Linked DNA regions of Homo sapiens: region 2 is linked to region 1. Evidence: promoter capture Hi-C in human tissues and cell types (Jung and others, 2019). All regions are on one chromosome and are shown on one strand. Each heading gives the region's core, a stretch centred on a gene start or on the middle of the fragment in contact. The rest is flanking DNA. Distances are from core to core; before and after follow the strand shown. Region 1 holds the start of SMAD7 (SMAD family member 7). Region 2 overlaps MYO5B (myosin VB).

Region 1 (4,437 bases), core at 682-3,181:
GGAGTTTCAGGGTCTCAGCCGAGAAGCCCAGGCCCCAGCGCAGTAAGAGGCGACAACGTCACTGAGGCGCCGGGGCCCCACTAATCTACAGACTTATCTGTGCGGAAGGAAGGAAAAAGTAGGGGACACCCAACTTCTCCTGCCTGTTTGTTCCTCTGCACCCTGGGGCTGGCAGAGTTGAAAGGAGACAGATACCCAGTTCGGCCTTCCATCCAACTCTCTTTGCCCCAAAACTCCAAAGGTGCGCGGCCACGACAGTATCTGGGCCACTGGTGTTCGACGTGATTCTCCGTATTTACTAAAGGAGTAAATACGGAGACCTTCCAGCCTTTATAGCACGCCTCTCCCAGCCTTCCTTGGCGGGCCTGGACCAAATCCAACTCGGCCACACACCTCAACGTCTTTCCGGGTGCGGGGAGGCGTGACCCCCCCACCTCCCTCTGCACCCCCTTGTTGATCCGGAAATGAAGGCGTCTAATTTTTAACCGCAGACTGCAGGAGCAGTGCCCGTAGACCCCTTCGGGGCAACACAGGAGAAAACCTGGAAGGGAACCCCCAGGGAATGCCCTTTGAGTTTCCCCTTGTCCCTTCTCTACTTTCAGCCCCCAGTCTCTTCCCAGGAGGGTATGCACACTCTCCCAGGAGGGTATGCACACTCTCCCAGGAGGGTATGCACACTCCCCCTGGAGGGATGGCTGCACAAACGCACTGCCCTAGGGGCTTTTCTTCCAGCACTGGCGCTCCGGAAAATGTTGGGGGTAGGGGGACAACTTCTCACCTAGTTCGCAGAGTCGGCTAAGGTGATGGGGGTTGCAGCACACCAGCTCGGGGTTGATCTTCCCGTAAGATTCACAGCAACACAGCCTCTTGACTTCCGAGGAATGCCTGAGATCCGGCCACCTGAACACTTTGCACAGCAGGAGGGGGAGCGAGTAGGACGAGGGCGGCTGCGCAGGCTGCGCGCCGGCGGGCGCCCCCGGGCCCAGCCTGCAGTCCAGGCGGCCGGGCAGCAGGAGGCACGCGGTGCGCGTCCCGCCGCGGGACTCCACGGCCTGGAGCAGCAGCTCCAGCTGCCGCTCCTTCAGTTTCTTGAGCACCGAGTGCGTGAGCGCCTTCAGATCCGCCTCGGCGCCCCCGGCCGCGCCGGCGCCCGCGGCTGGCGGGTGGGGATGGTGGTGACCTTTGGCACCTCGCACCGCCTTGCCCAGGCAGCATCCAGCCCTGCCCGGGCCGCCGCCACCGGCCCCATGCGCTCGGCTGTCCGTCGCCCCTTCTCCCCGCAGCTCGCCTCCTCCTCCACCTCCCCCTGCGCCCTCCTCCTCGTCCTCGCCGCCGGGCGCACGGCTCCTCCAGAGACGCCGGACGAGCGCAGATCGTTTGGTCCTGAACATGCGGGGCGAGGAGGCGAGGAGAAAAGTCGTTTGCCTGCTAAGGAGCGAACATGACCTCCGCACACCATGAAGAAGTCGGGCGCCGAGTTGGGGCAGCAGGCGCAGGCGACAGCAGCAGCAGCAGGGGCCCGGGCAGGAGCGGCGGCGGCCCGAGGGGCGCTCCGTGGCATGCGCCAGTCTCCCGGAGGCCGGGGCGCGCGCGGGGGCCCGGGGGCGCCCGCCGGGGATCGGGGGCCTGCGCTCCGGCTGCCCCACCCCGCGCGGCCCGCGCCCTGCGCGGCTCTCCGGCCCCGGCGCGCCCCGGAGGAACCCGGCCGCCGCTTCCCTGGGGACGGCCGAGCCTGCCCCCGTCGGCGCCTCCCCAAAAAGAGGCCCCCCCGCAGTGGCTCCCGAATGTCGGGCTCGCCAGCCTCGGCTTCCTACATGGAAGGTCCGCGGGGGCAAAAAACGAAAGGCGTTCGGCTGGGCTGTTGGAAGAAGGAAAAAGCCTCTTTCCCCCTTGCTAAGCAACTTAATTTGGGGGTGGGGAGAAGCAGGCAATTAAAAAAAAAAAAGCAAGCGATTTATTTTTTTCCTCTATATCCTTAGTAACCGGATCTCCTCGAATTCCGCGCACACGAAGACTCAGGGGAGGGGGCCGAGTGGACTTCACCCCGCATGAGACGTCTGGCAAAATAAGAAGGCTCTCGCAAAACCTAACAACCAAATATGCAAAGCCCCAAATGAAAACCACCACCTCCTCGAACCTCAGAGGTCTGGGGGCGTCCGGCTGGAACTGGGGTTTAAAAAAAGAAAATGTTTACAAAGTATAACAAGATGTTTGATGGGTGGAAAAATGTATCCACGAGTTACATCCCCCCGTTTCCTTGCAAAGCCCCGCTGGTCTTCCTCTCCTTTTCTTCTGCCAAAAAAAAAAAAAAAAATCGTGTATTTTTTTAATCCACAGAAAGCTTTGGCTAGACCGCTTCAATCCTGCGCATCTGGGTGGTTTAGGGGAGTCTCTGGTCTTTCCCCCTGCGCTCCTGGGGGCCCAGGTCCTCGGCGGGGACTTCCTCGAGGCTGGCGCGGGCGCAGGGGCAGAAGATGCTGCGGCGGCGGCTGAGCCCGGCGGGGCTGACAGCGCGGGGGAGGGTGGCGCGGCGGCGGCGGAGGGCCCCAGACGGGTCGCGCGTTCTCGCCCCCCCCGGGCACAAGCTGCTTGCTAGTGCAGGGGCCGCCGATGTCCCTTCCCCTGGCCGCGGCTGGCCGCCGAGGCTCCCCGCATGGGCTGCTCGCCTCGACCCAGCTGCGGCGGCAGGAGGCCCCGGTGTCCTCTCGGCGCCTCCTCCTCCGAGACTCTCCTCGTCGCGCCCGGGAGCCTCCTTGTCCCCGGTCCGCCCTCTCCTGGCGCTCCGGTCCTTCTGCCGCCGCCAGGGGCTCGCCGCGCCGCACTCAGGGGCTCAGGGGCCGGGCGCTCGGCGGCTCGGCGCCGACGGACTGGCTCTGTCTCGGGCAGCTCTCTCCCGCGCGGCGAGCGGACCGAGCACGGCGCCCGGCTGGCTCGGCTGGCGCGGCTCGGGGACAGGATCTTCCGTGCGCCGAGCAGCAAGCGAGTGTGCCCGGGGCTCACCGCCTCCCGCAAGGCCTCCCGCCCCCGCCCCCTTCCCTCCCCCTTCCTCCCCCTTCCCTCCCCCGCCCCCAGCCGCCGCAGCCGCGCCGCCTCCTCCCCGCCCCCCCGCACCCCCCCTCCGGCCCTCTGCTCGGCTGGTTCCACTGCGCAGTGGCGCGCCCGGCTCCGGCCTCGTCACGTGGCCGTCTAGACACCCTGTCGCTTTAAAAAAAAAAAAAAAGCGATTGTGTTTCGCAAACAACAGATCGGGTTTCTAAAAGCTATTTCTCCCCCCAACCCCCCGCCACCGCCACCCCCTCCCGGGTCTGTAGAGGGGGTACCGATGGAGGGGAGAGAGATAGGTGGGGGGCAGAGAAGCTCCCAGAATGGATTGAGCCCCGGCCGGAGCCATGGAGAAATTGGAAAAGCAGGGAGCACCGAGCGGGCTTCGCCGCGAGTTTTGGAGCTGAGCGAGCGGGTCGGTGGCCCGATTTCGACCCGGCTGGGTTTCGCGGTGGCCATCTCGCGCGCGCTCGCCCTAGCGCTTCATTCATTGGTTTTGTTTTAAAGGCCCTGGCGGTGGATCCCTTGGCCGCGCCCGAGGGCAAGGGGAGGAGAGCGCTGTCTCGGTTTAAAAGACATTTATACCGGACTGGACCGAGGCCCTGGGAAGTGTGCGCTGAGGGGAACAGCCGCCGAGGGCGGGGAGGCGGCGTGAATATGACCTCAGCGGCGGCCGCGCGCTCCCTCCCGCCCTCTCAGCTCCGGGCTCCGGTTTCTAGGACTGCCTGGAGAAGTGTGTCTTGTGCACAGCTCTGGAATGCATTTGGCCGGCTGACGAGCTGTGAGGGGCAGCATCCCGGCGGGAGAAGGGGAGCGGGGGTGGGGGCTCGCCTGCGCGCCGCGGGCAGGTTTCCTCCCGGGCCCGGAAGACCTCCGCCACCCGCCACCCTGCCTCCCGGCGCGGGAAGGTTACCCAGCGAGCAGACCTGCCTAGGGCATTCATTTGCATGCAGGCCCTGTTTCTGGGCCTCGTAGCTTTCAAGGTGCTTAGAGTCAGAGAGTTTATTCCTTGACCCCAGGTCCCGAAGAAACATATACCCAAGCTGGCGGGTTACTGCATAGAAACGGGCATGGCATTGCTAGGGCATAAACGCATTTACAGCGTGAAAGCTGATGGCTCCGAGAAACGTAATGATTTAAATACACACACATCAGTATTGATGAGGCCACTAGTTGGCATGGTGATCTAACCTCACTTCATATTCAGTGAAATACGATTTTTTTAAAAAGCCATTGAGAATTGTGAGATCAGGCCAGCAGTGAAACTCGTTGGGGGCTTTAAAGAATCTTTTTTTCTTTCTTTCTTTCTTTTTTTTTTTTTTTTTAGAGTCTCACTCTTCACCCGGGCTAGAGTCCAGTGGCTCGATTTCGGCTCACTGCAGCCTCTGCCTCCCC
Region 2 (4,384 bases), core at 612-3,111, 870 kb after region 1:
TCTTAATTACTGAAATTTTGTAAGTCTCAATGCCTGCTAAGGAAAGCTTCCCACTTTCTCAAGGAGGGTCTTCCTTATTCATGGGCCTTTGCTCTTCCATATAAATCTTATAATGAGCTTGTCAGTTTTCACATAGAAACAGTTGAAATTTTGATTTTTAATCTATAGATCAACTTGGGGACAACTGACAAACTTTTAGTGGTATGGAGTCTTCGAATTCTTGTACCTAATTATTTCTCCATTTTAATGTTGTCATTGTTTTTCACTTATATTTTACAAATTCCTCCATACAGATCTTATGACTATTTCCCCACTGATTTTTCATGCCATCTCTACCGTATGCTATGTTATACATAGGATTGGGCCTATCCTTGCACTCCCTATTCTGTTTCGTTGATCTACTTGTCTTTGCCTACACCAAAACTGCCTTTAATTCCATAGCTTTAAAGTAATTGCTCAATAAGCCTTGTTATCTGAGAGTTTCTCCCTGCCCCCAACTTTTGGACTGTAAGATGCTGACCTCTGGTTTAAATGATCTTGACACGTATTAGAATATAGGCCCCATAATGAAGCTTCTCAAGAGAGCATTACAAAGAAACTTTGTCAACCTGTAGCTGCAGAGTTTTAAATTTCATTTAGATTTGGCACACCTCTTTATTCAAAAGTATTTATTTCCACAAATTTTTATCCACAGCTAAATATTACAGTGACTATTACAAGCATTTTTCTATAAACAAAGGTGTAGTTTACAGATTTGTGCAAAGTGGGAAAATATTTTCATCAGTAGTCTTTCTTCCATGGTGTTGGATTCACCCCTGAATATGATCTGAACTCTTTCAGAGAGGCAGTCCTTCATCTAAATGTCAGTTGGTGGCAAAATGTTATATTCAAATCTGGATTATTCTGATACAGTGTCACTTTAGAAAGTAGCTTAGTTTCATTTCTGATTGATCCCCTTTGTTAGAATTAGAAATTTTTTGAAAAACAATCTTTTGTATCTAATGACCTTTATAATAAAAAAAACCCTGTCCTGTGTTTCTCATTGGCATTAACCTCTGTCTACACCCTCTAATTCTCTAATTATGGCACCAGTGGGTATAAAAAGTGAATTATGGTTATTTGGCTCATGCAGCAAATTAATTGGAGAAACTGACCACAAATATTCTGTGAAGAACTACAAGGTCTTGCCCCATGCTGTCCCATTTTAGTGACCATTTAGTTATGCAGGCATTATACAAATGCCTCAATTTAGGACACCCTTGCTGTCTTAGTAGGTCAAGTGTATGAAAATTTACTTTATGCAGAAGAAATGAATTCTAATTTATTGGTTACTGGAATCTTAATGTATGAAAGCTCTAAGTAAATATTTGATGAATTGATGGTAGCAGTGTTGATTTTTAACTGTTCCAAGCTCCTAGTTTTGTTTTGTTTTTACAAAAGCCTTAAAATTTAGTACTAGGGAAATCAAAGGAAGCAACTCCCACTGACATGCTTCATGGAAAGGGGAAAAACATCTACCTTTGGGTCTAATCTGCCTCCCAGGTGAGCCTACAGGTACTGGAACTCTAACTGCAACTATGAGGGCACAGGGAAAATGCATGTATGTAATATGCTTGTCAGCTTCAGCAACAACTCATGTGTACATTCACATTTACTATAAGTAAACAGGTCCCGTATAATACTTAAAACACAAGTTTTGATCTATAAATATTTGATTCTTAATATTTAAAATGCTTCTAATGTTTTAAAAGACAAAACTCCCCCATGATATCACCTTGAACATTAAAATTATTCCCACAGCAACACTTATTTCAGAGAAACAACTGATGTCAGTTATCTTAGTAACCGCTAAAGGCACCTGGTGAAAAAAATGTCAACTAAATTTTAAATATTAAAAAATTAAAGAGACATCTAATGCAGAGTTCAAACCTGAATTGTTAAAGAGTCATTACTGATTTCATGACACTGATAAATGTTTGAATTGAAATGATTTTTTAAAATGCAGAGAAAATGCTAACAAAAGATTATATAGTTCCCCTAAAGATGCTTCTTCTAGCCTCCAAGTATTAAATAAGACAGATCTAAATATTAACTACATATAAAGTATATATTTGTTAGTCATCTGTAAGTTTTAAGTACAATTCCAGGATATACCTTTATCTTTTGGAAGAGAAGAACTAAATCTGCCATTTCTTAGGCTAAATGGACTATTCATAAGGTCCTTCCCTCCCCATTTATTCTAATTGCCAAGCTTTTATTCAGTAAGCTCTTGGCACCTAGTGATTAACCAGTGACAGCAGAGAGTAGTGACCAAGAGAGATGGAGAGAATGATGGTATAAGACAGTGTATAAGGATAGTAAGCCACTGTGTTTGTGGAACCACTGCATGTCAAAACTCCTTAACACTCTAACAAGGCATTTTTGGTCTTTTAAGGATGGTCCTTACATAAGAGACTCACTTTCAAACTAAAGTGCATTAAAAAACAAATTATCCTTCACAAACAACTTTAAAGAGGTAGCCACAAACCCAGTTGTTTTAGATTGGCCTTCTAAATGAAGTCAGCACATGGATCCATGGGTAAGTGTCATGGACGTCAGTGATTATGTAACTGTAACTGAAAGAAAAAGGCACAGCTCTGCCGATGCCCAAGAGAAGCCGGCATGTTTAATGTGGATGTAGAGGGGATAATGCCCATGACAACTGATTGGAACACAATGTCAGCAGCCTTAACCCAGGCTAAGACTGGCCTAAGCCCCAGGAGATGCAGAGAACAACTGAGGAAGCTGTGCTCTAAGGGCACAGTGCAGAAGGTAGCGTGGAGTGTGCTGTGTTTCCAAGAGCCTTTTAAGTTGGGTGGTTGAGTAAAAGAGGGTGAAGGCAGGCTGTTCTACTTCCAATTCATGGATAAATCTTATTTTCTCAATGTAATACAGAGGCTGTTCTTCCATGATTTGCAAATACCATTTTTTTCTTATGGGAACAGCATACTGCTATCAAGAAATACAGAAAAGACAGTAAAAAAAAGTGTGGAAAGAATATGGGTTTCCAATTGAATGCTTGCTTTTGAAGAAACCAAAAACAAGTTAAAAAAAATTCTAAGAGCAGCAAACATCTAAGCCTGTTATATTACTGAATTACTTTTTTAAAATCCTTATTTTGTGGGAGAGATATTTACAATTTTTTGTGTGCTAAATTTGAAAAACGTTGAAAATAACCTGAAAAGGGAAAGTTGACCTAAGCCATTTTATTCTCTTAAAAAAAAAAAACCCAAACTTTTGTATAATATCCCTGAACTGATTATTTTTGAAGGTTTTTCAGATGATCTGATGTGCGAACTTTAGTTTGTTTTACTATTTGGTTTCTGGAACAGTAGAGCATTATGTGATGCTCTTACTGGAAGCTTAATGGTATTAAGAGATTAAAAGCTTTCATATTGACTTGTTTGGTTTTTACATCTATAAATAAAACAAGTTTGTTATCCGTTTCTAATATTTAGCTTATATACATTTTTGTGAAAGTTTTGTGGGACTTGGAAAGTGTATGGACTAGCATCAGAAACAAAATATTTTTCCATCTTTCTCACTTGGAGTTTGGGATAGCAGCATTTTAATAATCTCTTCCATTAAATCAAGATAACACAAAAGCGTTTGAGCACACTGAGGACTGGCACTTCTAATTTTGCTTCAGAAACCAGTACTCAAAATGTCTGGTCTGGAGGTCAGTTACACCACTGTCTGTGTATAATCAGCCATTAAAAAATATTTTGGGAATATTTCTCAGAAGTCTCATCCCCATATTTTTGTTCTTAAAACATCTCACCACAAACTCAACCACACCTATGGTTTGCAAACTTTGGGAAATGTCAGTATATGCCATTATCATGGTTATTAGTACCATTATTTGTTAAAGCCCTTTGAAGGCAATTTATGTGACTTATATATATTTGGTATTTTAATTTGGACATTCTCTAGTTCTATGCAAAGATCAAAACTAGGCAGCTTCGTTTTATAGAATTGACACCTTTTATATGTCTATGGGGACTGCTTGGTGTCTATAAATTATGTATATGTGTTGGACTGAAATCAAACTTAAAATCTTCCATATTTCAAGTGTTTTTATTCTGAGCAGTAGGTACAAAAAATAATGACATAGTTGTGTCTAATTCTGTATAGTTCAGCACCCTCCACAGGCTGTCAATCTCTGATTTGATCTACTTTTACCAGATTTAACAGATCCTTGAATTTACTTTACTGTATATACTTCCTTCTTGCTCACATTGGGAATCAAACTAATGCTGGAAACATGCATCTTCAGACTTCATTGAGGAATTCCAGATTGAGACACGCTGGGATGTGGATTGAGTCCATGGTTAGAGAAGATGGA

The links. Contacts are between HindIII fragments. The study calls those that stand out against the background at their distance.
Region 2: a contact is called between a fragment that was not itself captured here and the fragment with the promoter of SMAD7 in region 1, in 1 of the 25 tissues and cell types used here (lymphoblastoid cells).

What each region holds. Positions count from the first base shown.
Region 1 is chr18:48,949,034-48,953,470 of GRCh38, forward strand. It overlaps SMAD7 (SMAD family member 7), which reads right to left and starts at 1,932. Exons shown (of 4, transcript NM_005904.4): 1 at 779-1,932. The coding sequence starts at 1,391. RefSeq lists silencers at 870-1,189, 2,406-3,105, 3,676-4,015. The HindIII fragment of the contact is 10,376 bases long and covers 710-4,437 here.
Region 2 is chr18:49,822,160-49,826,543 of GRCh38, forward strand. It overlaps MYO5B (myosin VB), which reads right to left. Exons shown (of 40, transcript NM_001080467.3): 40 at 630-4,384. The coding sequence ends at 4,312. The region is part of intron 1 of SNHG22 (small nucleolar RNA host gene 22); the gene reads left to right. Among named protein-coding and RNA genes, the nearest start is that of SNHG22, 10 kb to the left of the region's middle. The HindIII fragment of the contact is 3,104 bases long and covers 310-3,413 here.